Regions from separate parts of the Homo sapiens genome. Here region 2 is linked to region 1. Evidence: promoter capture Hi-C in 16 types of primary human blood cells and fetal thymus (Javierre and others, 2016). All regions are on one chromosome and are shown on one strand. Each heading gives the region's core, a stretch centred on a gene start or on the middle of the fragment in contact. The rest is flanking DNA. Distances are from core to core; before and after follow the strand shown. Region 1 holds the start of ABCA6 (ATP binding cassette subfamily A member 6). Region 2 overlaps ABCA8 (ATP binding cassette subfamily A member 8).

What was found. Contacts are between HindIII fragments. The CHiCAGO score rates a contact against its expected background, and 5 or more counts as called.
Region 2: a fragment that was not itself captured here is called in contact with the fragment with the promoter of ABCA6 in region 1 in 1 of 17 cell types (megakaryocytes); the score reaches 5.1 in megakaryocytes.

Annotation. Positions count from the first base shown.
Region 1 is chr17:69,138,959-69,144,598 of GRCh38, reverse strand. It overlaps ABCA6 (ATP binding cassette subfamily A member 6), which reads left to right and starts at 2,704. Exons shown (of 39, transcript NM_080284.3): 1 at 2,704-2,854; 2 at 3,851-3,991. The coding sequence starts at 3,896. RefSeq lists a silencer at 2,517-2,811. The HindIII fragment of the contact is 11,176 bases long and covers 1-3,705 here.
Region 2 is chr17:68,902,880-68,907,910 of GRCh38, reverse strand. It overlaps ABCA8 (ATP binding cassette subfamily A member 8), which reads left to right. Exons shown (of 40, transcript NM_001288985.2): 18 at 32-171; 19 at 1,748-1,867; 20 at 4,412-4,610. Among named protein-coding and RNA genes, the nearest start is that of ABCA8, 50 kb to the left of the region's middle. The HindIII fragment of the contact is 968 bases long and covers 1,015-1,982 here.

The sequences.
Region 1 (5,640 bases), core at 1,455-3,954:
AAGTTCCCCAAAGAAACACACATAATTATTAAAAAAAAGGGAAGATCTTAAAAATACTACTACTTAGAATTTTGTATTAGTCACATTTGAGAGAGCTTGCTTAGCTCACAATAATTTCCCCCTTAGTTCTTAAGTTTTCTAATAGTCTCATTTGTTTGTCCTACTGATTTGTTTTCATGTTAGACTTTTGATTATGAGTTTATCTTCTGGGAGGAATATTTCTTTTACCTCTGTTGCTTTGTGTTCTGAAATTTGGATGTATCTTTATGGAATTTTTGTGTTTTCTCTGTGACACTCCAGGATAGTAAGAGGAGGAGGGAGGAAGAGGAGGAAGGAGGAGGAGGAGGAGGGGAAGTAACAGCAAATAACATTTTTTGAGCTTTTACAATTTTCCCTCATTTTTCTATGTACTTACATAGATGAATTTAACCCCTACAATAACCTTATATATATATTAATACTGTTGTTTTTCCACTTTTGGGGGGTAAAAAACCTGAGGGCGTGAGAGTTAAATGGATTGTGCAAGGTCACACAGCTAGTACATGGCAGAGCCAGAATTTGGACACAAGTTTGGCTCCAGAGTGTTTACACTAACTCCTGTAATACATCTCTGGACAGGTTATTATACTGGGAGAATAAATTCAGATCCTTCTCCTGTCTCTTGTACCTGATACATGCTCTACATACTTTGTGGTTTCATTTTCTATGGGCGATCTATCTATCTATCTATCTATCTATCTATCTATCTATCTATCTATCTATCTACTATCTGTCTGTCTGTCTTCCAGAAATTGGGCAGAGAATACAGCTTTGCTCTCCCCTGAGGTTGTAGGTGAAATTTTCCTAGTCTGTTTTTAGCACCGGACAGTCCTATAAACCCTCTGGATTCCTGCAGGAATATGAACTCCAGCTTACCAACCTTTCAAGGACCAAGTTCAGGCCAGAGGGTCATTAAAACACCTGAGGCTTGGTTTTCAGTCCAGTATATCCTTGAACTGATGGAGTGTCTGAAATGCCACTCACAACTTAAGGGAAACTTTAAATTCCTTTTCAGTTTTAACACCTGGAAACATGTCTTTCTGTCTTTTTTTGTTTCTTCCATTGTTGTTTACATTCTTCATCTTTTTTCTTCCTTTTTTGAATTTGACTATATATTGGAAATTCAATTTGGGGATATATTTTACCCACCACTTCCATGCCCTTCTAGCTGGAGGCTGGGCACTTTAGTATATTAGATCACCATTTGTGGGGAAATTGTCACATTACGTAAGGAAAACAGCCTCCCAAAATGAAAATAAGTAAGAGGAAACAGGTCAAGAAAAAGGAAAAGAAAGCATACACAAGAAACAATGGTAAGAAATGAAACTAATAAATATATTTAATCTAAATAATTATCATTGATATTGTAGCTGTGAATTTTAATACAATTATAAGAATGGCAGAATGAAAATGATTCCTAAAATAAAGTATAAAGGGTCTAAAACAATGATAACAACAAAAAAATTCATAAAAGCCTTAACTGTATTCCAGGTGGTTTAAAAGTAACTTTGAGTTTTGTTATATTACTATTACAAAATGTTAAGTGTTTATGACCTCCCTTCCCACACCCCATGAGAACTTTAGAACACCTTTATTAACGGTGTTTGTGCCAATTTTCAATGTAAAAAAAGTGGCATTTCACTGTTGACTATTTTTAAAAACAGAAGTAATTGCCAAGGAGAGAAATTTTATATATATATATATACACACACACACACACACACACACATTATATATATACACATATGTATACATTATATATATATACATTTTATATATATACACACAGGCACACACATATACACATAATAGTATCATGGCTGTAGTTGTCATTGTTGTTTAAATTATCTGCTTTGCTCCAGAAAGTTTCTCAGCTTTATGATTATTAACATCTGTGGATTGGGAGCCGTGTCAAATATTTGAGATTTCCCAATTCATGGACTTTGATTTCCTGTTTTGCCATTCACTGTGGCAGGTCAAGAAAAGTTTGCAACTCTTTACAGAGCAGAGAGAGACAGACTATGCTATATGAATTAAACATGTTTCAGTTTGTTGTAGTCTTCGTGCACAAAAATTTATCTGAATCTTTTTATATGTTTTGTAGACCTGGGCAAACCACTGGCTTATTTTGTTCATAAGTATTATGAAATCCTGTATCCACTGTGAAGAGGGTGGGAGCAACAAATTTGTTAAAAATTCTTCATTTGTCTGTCCTAGGAGTTTCTCCAAGGCGTACTATGGATTGCTTAGCTTTATTAGGAAAAAAAATCAGCTCCAGAATACTCTGCTAACTTAGTCTGAATTAGTTAAATATACAACTAACTGGCAGTTGTGTTTATTCATCAGTAGTGAAAAGAAAATAGATACAGATTTCTTATACAAATTTAACTGCTTTGTTTGGTTAGTTATTGTTTTTACTCTTTCTTGTTCCTGCCTCCATCTTGGTCTCATCATTTCTGAAGAACTAGTTCCATTTTCCTTGTTTACCGTTTTCCCCCTTATCCCTGTAGTTGAAAGGCTAAGTGAACAAACACAGAGTTTATTTTATTCCCAACCAACCACGGAACAGTCATTTCCTTGCAGAATAATTGGCTTAGGGAGAAAGAGACACAGAAAACAAAACAAGTTCATCATGTACAGCTTGGTCTGGCTACACCCCTTTTCAGAAACCAGGCTGTGTAAGAGCTGCTGGAGTAGGCACCCATTTAAAGAAAAAATGAAGAAGCAGCAATAAAGAAGTTGTAATCGTTACCTAGACAAACAGAGAACTGGTTTTGACAGTGTTTCTAGAGTGCTTTTTATTATTTTCCTGACAGTAAGTAAAGCTCTATTTTGTTGTGCTGTGCCAAATATGTGGGTGGACACTGCTAAAATCAATCTATTTTTCAGATGTTTCCCAATTCTTATGTGTTTTATGTTAAAGACCTAAGACTAAATTTTTCTGCTTTTTCCCAACCACTTTTTATTGTGTAGATTGTAACAGTAAGACATAGAAAAATGGAAAAAATTTGCTTCTGTGCTAGCTGAGGGAGAATTATCTGAATATTTTGATGTAAAAATATGAAAGAATTTCATTTTGAGGTTACAGAAACGAAAAAAATTGTGTTTCTTGATTTGCAAATCTTTGGGCAAAATTACTTTCCCGTGTGATTTATTTTTGCTTCTTTTAAAGCTAATTTTGTAGTTTCATTAGTTATTCAGGGACTTCTGAATTCAGAAAATTGAGAGAAATTGCTTTATTCTTCCTGTATCTCAGAATCAAGTTTCAAGTAGTTTGAGCCTGGATTATGATTTACAACCTATCTCTTTTCATAAAAGTTGATTCAATCTGAAGGTAAAATTACAAGAAAACACTTTATTGAGGTTGTATCTAGTGGATGTAATTTATTATTCAGACAAATTTAAGTAATCAGACTTTTGATGTTAATTTGATTAGCTCTGAGATTTCTGTTTCAATGTAAAGAACAAGAAATGGCTATTAACAGGATGAAATTAATTTAATCACTCTATTCATGTACTTAAAGTTCTCTCATACAAGGCCAAAAATGTGAAATTATAGGTTCTGAAGTTGAATTACAGCTTTTCCATTTCAGTACTCCAAGTTATTGCAAAATTGTGATAATAATCACTCTGCCTTCCCACCATCACCCACTCCCCTAAAAAGCTTAAGGTGAAATATTTGAGGTGAAATTTTACAGTCATAAATTATTGAAATAATATTTTAAATTCATGTTTACACTTTTTAAAGGTAGTAAATATTTTCCTCAACACTATGATCAAGGTTTTTCTTATTACACTTATTTTTTTCTAGGTTGTGTTCCACCATGATTACTTTCTCCTTCAGCGAATAGGCTAAATGAATATGAAACAGAAAAGCGTGTATCAGCAAACCAAAGCACTTCTGTGCAAGAATTTTCTTAAGAAATGGAGGATGAAAAGAGAGAGCTTATTGGTATGTTTAAAAATTTGTCTCTTTCCACGGTTAGCACTCTTACAGTGTTTCATTACCTACTGATTCTCTTATGTTCTCTTTTAATTAGTAGATGGGATTTATTGATTTTACCAGTTCTCTCTAGTTGTATTTGTTGAATTGAGAGACTGAAGAATAACATAAAATTATTAAAGACTAAAAGAATTCCTCATATAAAAAGAGATTAAGTGAACATTTAATTATATGGTAAATTACAGCAACTGCTAGAGCTACTACCAAATGTTATACACTTAGAGCCAAGAAGTACAAAAAAAATGTTGTCAGAAGAAATGGAGACATTTTAATTTTGTGGATTTATTTTCAAGGACATGAATTTTCTACACAAAAATTGTTTTTAAGAATTATGATCAACTAACACCACTGAAAGTCAGTTTGCATCAAGCAGGTGGGCTAATCACAGATGACTAGCCCAAATCTCAGTGGCTTAACACAGCAAATGTTTATTTTTTTATTTTTTATTTTTTTATTATTATTATACTTTAAGTTTTAGGGTACATGTGCACAATGTGCAGGTTAGTTACATACATATACATGTGCCATGCTGGTGTGCTGCACCCATTAACTCGCCATTTAGCATTAGGTATATCTCCTAATGCTATCCCTCCCCCCTCCCCCCATCCCACAACAGGCCCCAGAGTGTGATGTTCCCCTTCCTGTGTCCATGTGTTCTCATTGTTCAATTGCCATCTATGAGTGAGAACATGCGGTGTTTGGTTTTTTGTCCTTGCAATAGTTTACTGAGAATGATGATTTCCAATTTCATCCATGTCCCTACAAAGGACATGAACTCATCATTTTTTATGGCTGCATAGTATTCCATGGTGTATATGTGTCACATTTTCTTAATCCAGTCTATCATTGTCGGACATTTGGGTTGGTTCCAAGTGTTTGCTATTGTGAATAGTGCCGCAGTAAACATACATGTGCATGTGTCTTTATAGCAGCATGATTTGTAGTCCTTTGGGTATATACCCAGTAATGAGATGGCTGGGTCAAATGGTATTTCTAGTTCTAGATCCCTGAGGAATCACCACACTGACTTCCACAATGGTTGAACTAGTTTACATTCCCACCAACAGTGTAAAAGTGTTCCTATTTCTCCACATCCTCTCCAGCGCCTGTTGTTTCTTGACTTTTTAATGATTGCCATTCTAACTGGTGTGAGATGGTATCTCATTGTGGTTTTGATTTGCATTTCTCTGATGGCCAGTGATGATGAGCATTTTTTCATGTGTCTTTTGGCTGCATAAATGTCTTCTTTTGAGAAGTGTCTTTTCATATCCTTTGCCCACTTTTTGATGGGGCTGTTTGTTTTTTTCTTGTAAATTTGTTTGAGTTCATTGTAGATTCTGGATATTGGCCCTTTGTCAGATGAGTAGGTTGGGAAAATTTTCTCCCGTTTTGTAGGTTGCCTGTTCACCCTGATGGTAGTTTCTTTTGCTGTGCAGAAGCTCTTTAGTTTAATTAGATCTCATTTGTCAATTTTAGCTTTTGTTGCCATTGCTTTTGGTGTTTTAGACATGAAGTCCTTGCCCCTGCTTATGTCCTGAATGGTAATGCCTAGGTTTTCTTCTAGGGTTTTTATGGTTTTAGGTCTAACGTTTAAGTCT
Region 2 (5,031 bases), core at 249-2,748, 240 kb after region 1:
ATATGTCTTTTTTTTTTTTTCTGAATGCCAGCTTGCAGTTAAATGAAATATGTGTTGAGGAAAACATAACATCACTTGTTAAACAGCACATCCCTGATGCCAAATTATCAGCCAAAAGCGAAGGAAAACTTATTTATACATTACCCTTAGAAAGAACAAATAAATTTCCAGGTAATGTGCATGAACACTGTGAAATAAAATATGTGAATAATAGTCATCATCATCATAATTATTATCATTACAACTAACATTTATCAATGTCTTACAGTATGCTCAGGTACTGAAACATAATCAAAAGAATAGTACAATAACTGAATTATTTTCTGTATAGTGGGAAATAGAATTACATTCTAATAGTTGTATTGTAATGCCTGGGCATTTTAGAGGGCTTCTTTTAGTCCTTCTTCCCTAGTAGTGTGTAACATAATATTCTAGTATTCATAAATGTACACAAACCCAAATGGTTGAAAACCTCTGGCTTATGCACTACATTAAACAGCCCTGTGATGTGGCTATCTGTCTCGGTGAGACTTTTGCAATAACTTTGGGTTTTTCAGGCTAACGCATAAAAGTTTACTAACTATGTTTGTTGTTCAGGGAACTTGTTCCTTAACAATGGGGCACTATAAGGGCCCACATTAGTGGTTGAAACAATTAACCTTGCTGTATATGTGGTTAACAAAGACATATACATTCATTCAAATACACATTTTATGGTGACAACACAAGCATTCCTTAGAATCATCAGGAAAGTGTTACGCAAATTCTGATTAGTACTTTTTAACAGTAATTATAATTTAAAGAAAATTTGTAGACGTTTTAGGTGGAATGAAGAATGATGCATAATACTCATTATTAGCTTAAATCTTACTTCTTTTCTACCTTTCTGTATGAGGTATTCTAGTCAAGACAAAAAGCTTTTAACCTATCCTTTTGCCCAAGCAGGAGCTCCAGATGGAAGCCTCAGGACTTCTGTAATCACCCTAGTATTAGAATTAGGTTTTTATTTAAGCTTGATTTAACCACTGTAATTCAAATCCATGCAGGCAGGGGCACTGTTCACTGCTTCATGAACAATGACAGATGCGTAAGTATATTTTGGTGAACGAACTAAAGAATGAATAGATATAAAATTGCTAGAGCGAATAATCACTGTCACAATTCCAGGAAAATTCCCTGATTCAGTTCCACATTCTCTGCCTGTTAGGTCTTGTGAATTTTTTCTTCCATTGTTAGAAACAGAAAATTTTTTAATGGTTTATATTCTATGTCTTCTCTTTAACAAATATTTTCTAAACTACAGAAGATTCTACACCATCCAATTAATTCTCAAAAAATTAATTCCTTTCCTTTTGTCAGTTAGAACATAAATGGCTCCCATTTATATCTGTTCTCTAGAAAAGACTTTTCAATTAATTAGGCTTAGAGTTGAAAAACCCAGAGTCTCACAATTAATTAAATTTTAAAAGGAAGTCAGAAAAAACTAAGATTAAACTTTAATAGAAATGCAAATGAATATAAATTAATGTTTGACAAAGTAATATTTGGGTTGTAACACATGATGTAAAATAGAAAATAATATATAGAATTTGCAGAATAAGATGATCTATTATGAAATGTTAATTTTCAAATGTTTTTGACATATCACAAGTATAGTTTCATAGATTTGTGCTTATTAGTTTGAAAAATTGTCTTCAGTTCACTTGTGATTCTTGTTTTAATTCACTGCTGTATATGTATTCTTTAGAACTTTACAAGGATCTTGATAGCTATCCTGACCTAGGAATTGAGAATTATGGTGTTTCCATGACAACTTTGAATGAAGTATTCCTGAAGCTAGAAGGAAAATCTACAATTAATGAATCGGGTAAATAAAATGCATGAAAATTATTATGTAAAAGCACATATTTCAAGAACACACTGTTCCAAAGATGTGATTACAAAATGTGGGGTTCATGATTAAGGCTCTTCTTAGACAAGCTTGTGTAAAAATGAAACGCATCCCTGTCAACATTGCTTTGTAGTTAAAAATAATCCATTTTTCTACATCCAAGGCTCACTGCACTCATATTAGCTCTAGGCTTCTAAGGGCAATTTCAGATAAAACATTTATTCTAAATCATAAATTAATATAAAACATGAACCCACAGATCTAAAACACTTAAGAACCCCAAACAATACTTTAAAATGAAACTATTAAATTCCTGTAGGCCAGCAATAAAGAAGAGAGTCTTAATTAGACATATTGTACTGTTCCACAGATATCAGATTCTCTGGTGTCAGGTTTTTCTTTTTTTTTTCTTTATGTTAGAAATTGGACACTATCTATCCACCTATTTTCAAGGTCACAAATAACTTATTCTCTTGTGTTCAGACTGTTTTGAAGCCGAACATAATAAACTCTCTATTTCTGATACTGCACTTTTTCATTCTAACATTTTCATTTGTTCTTTTTTAGAGTTTCAGTTCTTTACTATTTCTCATCTGCTCTCAATATTGTCCATATTTTCCAGTAGATCTTGTAACATATTTATCATAGTTATTTTTAAACTTGTGTATTTTAATTCTAACATGTGGACCGTGTGACTGATGACCGTTATCAGTAACTGACTCTGATTTTTTTTCCTCTTCCCTATGGGTTATATTTCCCCGCTTCTTCATATGTCTTGAAATTTGTATTTTATCATGGATGTTACTTTAACAAAACAGGAACACTGAGGTAAACAATGGCCAGAAAATGGCATGACTCTTCCTCTGTCAGACTACTGATGTGGATGGCAGAACTGATCTAATTTGTATTTGGCAAGTGCCTGGGCTTTTGCACAGGTTTTATTAGATTCAGTCCACTCCCAGCTTCGAATGTTTTAAAGGTAGAATCAGGTCTTTCCCTTAGACGTGACTTTGAATTATAGCACTGGAAAAATTCTATATATTTCTCTATAGCCCTGCTATCAAATATCTCAATAATGATTAATCTCACTGATTTTCAGCCTGTCATCACTTTTTGTTTATTTATTTGTTAGTATACATCTCTCCACTCCTCATTCAGTGACTGGACCCTAGTGGACTCATGTATTACACAAAAGGAAAGACCCATGAACCCTGATGATGTCTTGCTCAAGACACTATGCAGCTTCTTGTGTTTCTCTCTCCGTTTTTCTGAGTATCTGCCCCCAGCTACTGCTGTACTGTTCCTATGCACTTAGGAAAGGCTCCACGAAAAAAAGTTCGTAGATGCTGTAAACTCGTTTTGTGACTTAGGTACCCCATGATTCTAGTCAGTTATATCAGCCCACATATAATCACAGAATTTTTAAATCTGGGCTGCTTTCTTTTCACCTACCTATGGTGGTTTTCTCCTTTTTCCTTTTTCTGCCATGTCCCTAAAGATGAAAGCTTCCACAGGAATCTTCTCCCCCTAGAAATGTTTCCTTCCTTTATACATGTTAGTTTTTTAGCTTTCTTTGTGCTCTCGCCCATCTGATGGATTAAAAATAACTAATATTTATTCCCTTGGTAAGACAGGTTGACAGTCTCTTGCAACTAACGAGAAGCAGAATATCCCTGAATTATTATTATTATTATTATTATTATTATTATTATTATTATTATTATTATTTCTTTTTTTTGAGATGGAGTCTCGCTCTGTCACCCAGGCTGGAGTGCAGTGGCACGATCTCGGCTCACTGCAAGCTCTGCCTCCCGGGTTCACGCCATTCTCCTGCCTCAGCTTCCCGAGTAGCTGCGACTACAGGTGCCCACCACCACGCCCGGCTAATTTTTTTAATGGACTTTTGACCACTATCTTAAGATCCTTATATCTTCATTCACAGTGTGTTTTGTGTCCTGTCACTGTACTTATACATTTACGGGTGTGTGCTTTTTGAGGTTTGATATTAGGCTTATTTTAGCATTATACAATGGACAGCATCCTGGGTATCCAGAGATTATAGAGAACACACAAATGAATGCAGTCTCAGAAACTATTCAAAACTGAATAGTTTTGAAATCTCTGCAGTAACAATTTATAGCTAACTCCCAGTTTGTAGCTTGCCATTTACAGTTTACTCCCTGTTCAGAGCATGTCAATTTGTAGCTTCATTGAACATGTAAGATATTTGTTTCCTTTACTGACTTTCCATGTCATTTCTAACCACTGTGATGACCTTGCCTATTTATCTTGACCTCTGTAATGTATTGTCTGTATCCAAATTACCTAAGGTCTCCTTTCTATCCCTTTTGTTCAAGAAATAAATATTTCTTCTATTTCTGTATTTTAAGGCAGTAACCAGCAAAACCACGTTATACCTATAGTAACGCGGAAGAGTCTAATCATGAGATGCTTAGCAGAGCCAATCTCTATAGTAAGCTCAATAAAGTACATATGAGTTGCTTATTTTATGTTTTGCAGACATTGCTATTTTGGGAGAAGTACAAGCGGAAAAAGCTGACGACACTGAAAGGCTTGTTGAGATGGAACAAGTCCTCTCTTCACTTAACAAGATGAGAAAGACAATAGGTGGTGTGGCTCTCTGGCGACAGCAAATCTGCGCAATTGCAAGGGTTCGCTTGTTAAAGTTAAAGCATGAAAGAAAAGCTCTTTTAGCACTGTAAGTATCAGAGTTGCCATAGGTTTTCTTTTTAAGTCAATGCGTTAAAAAGCAAATCTAAGGTATAAAGGCAAGCAAAAAAACACAAAGATATGATGAATTAGGCAGCAGAAAGGGAAAGCATCACAGTGGAAGAAGCACAGGAGAGAGGCAGAATCTTGACATCCAAAGGACAAATATTGCATGAAATTTTATGGGATATCCAATGGCCAAAAAGCAACAGGAGAAATGAACAAAGGACAAATCTACGGTTTAACATCTTGAATTTGGAGTTAGTAAAAGGACAAAATACTCAAGAAATGTGACAGTTAATTGTGTTTAATTTTTATAATTTCTTTATCCCATTACATTATAAACTGCTCAGAGAGTATTAGATCAGGAAATGACATTGCATTCATTTTGGCAATTTTCTTTTGTGTAG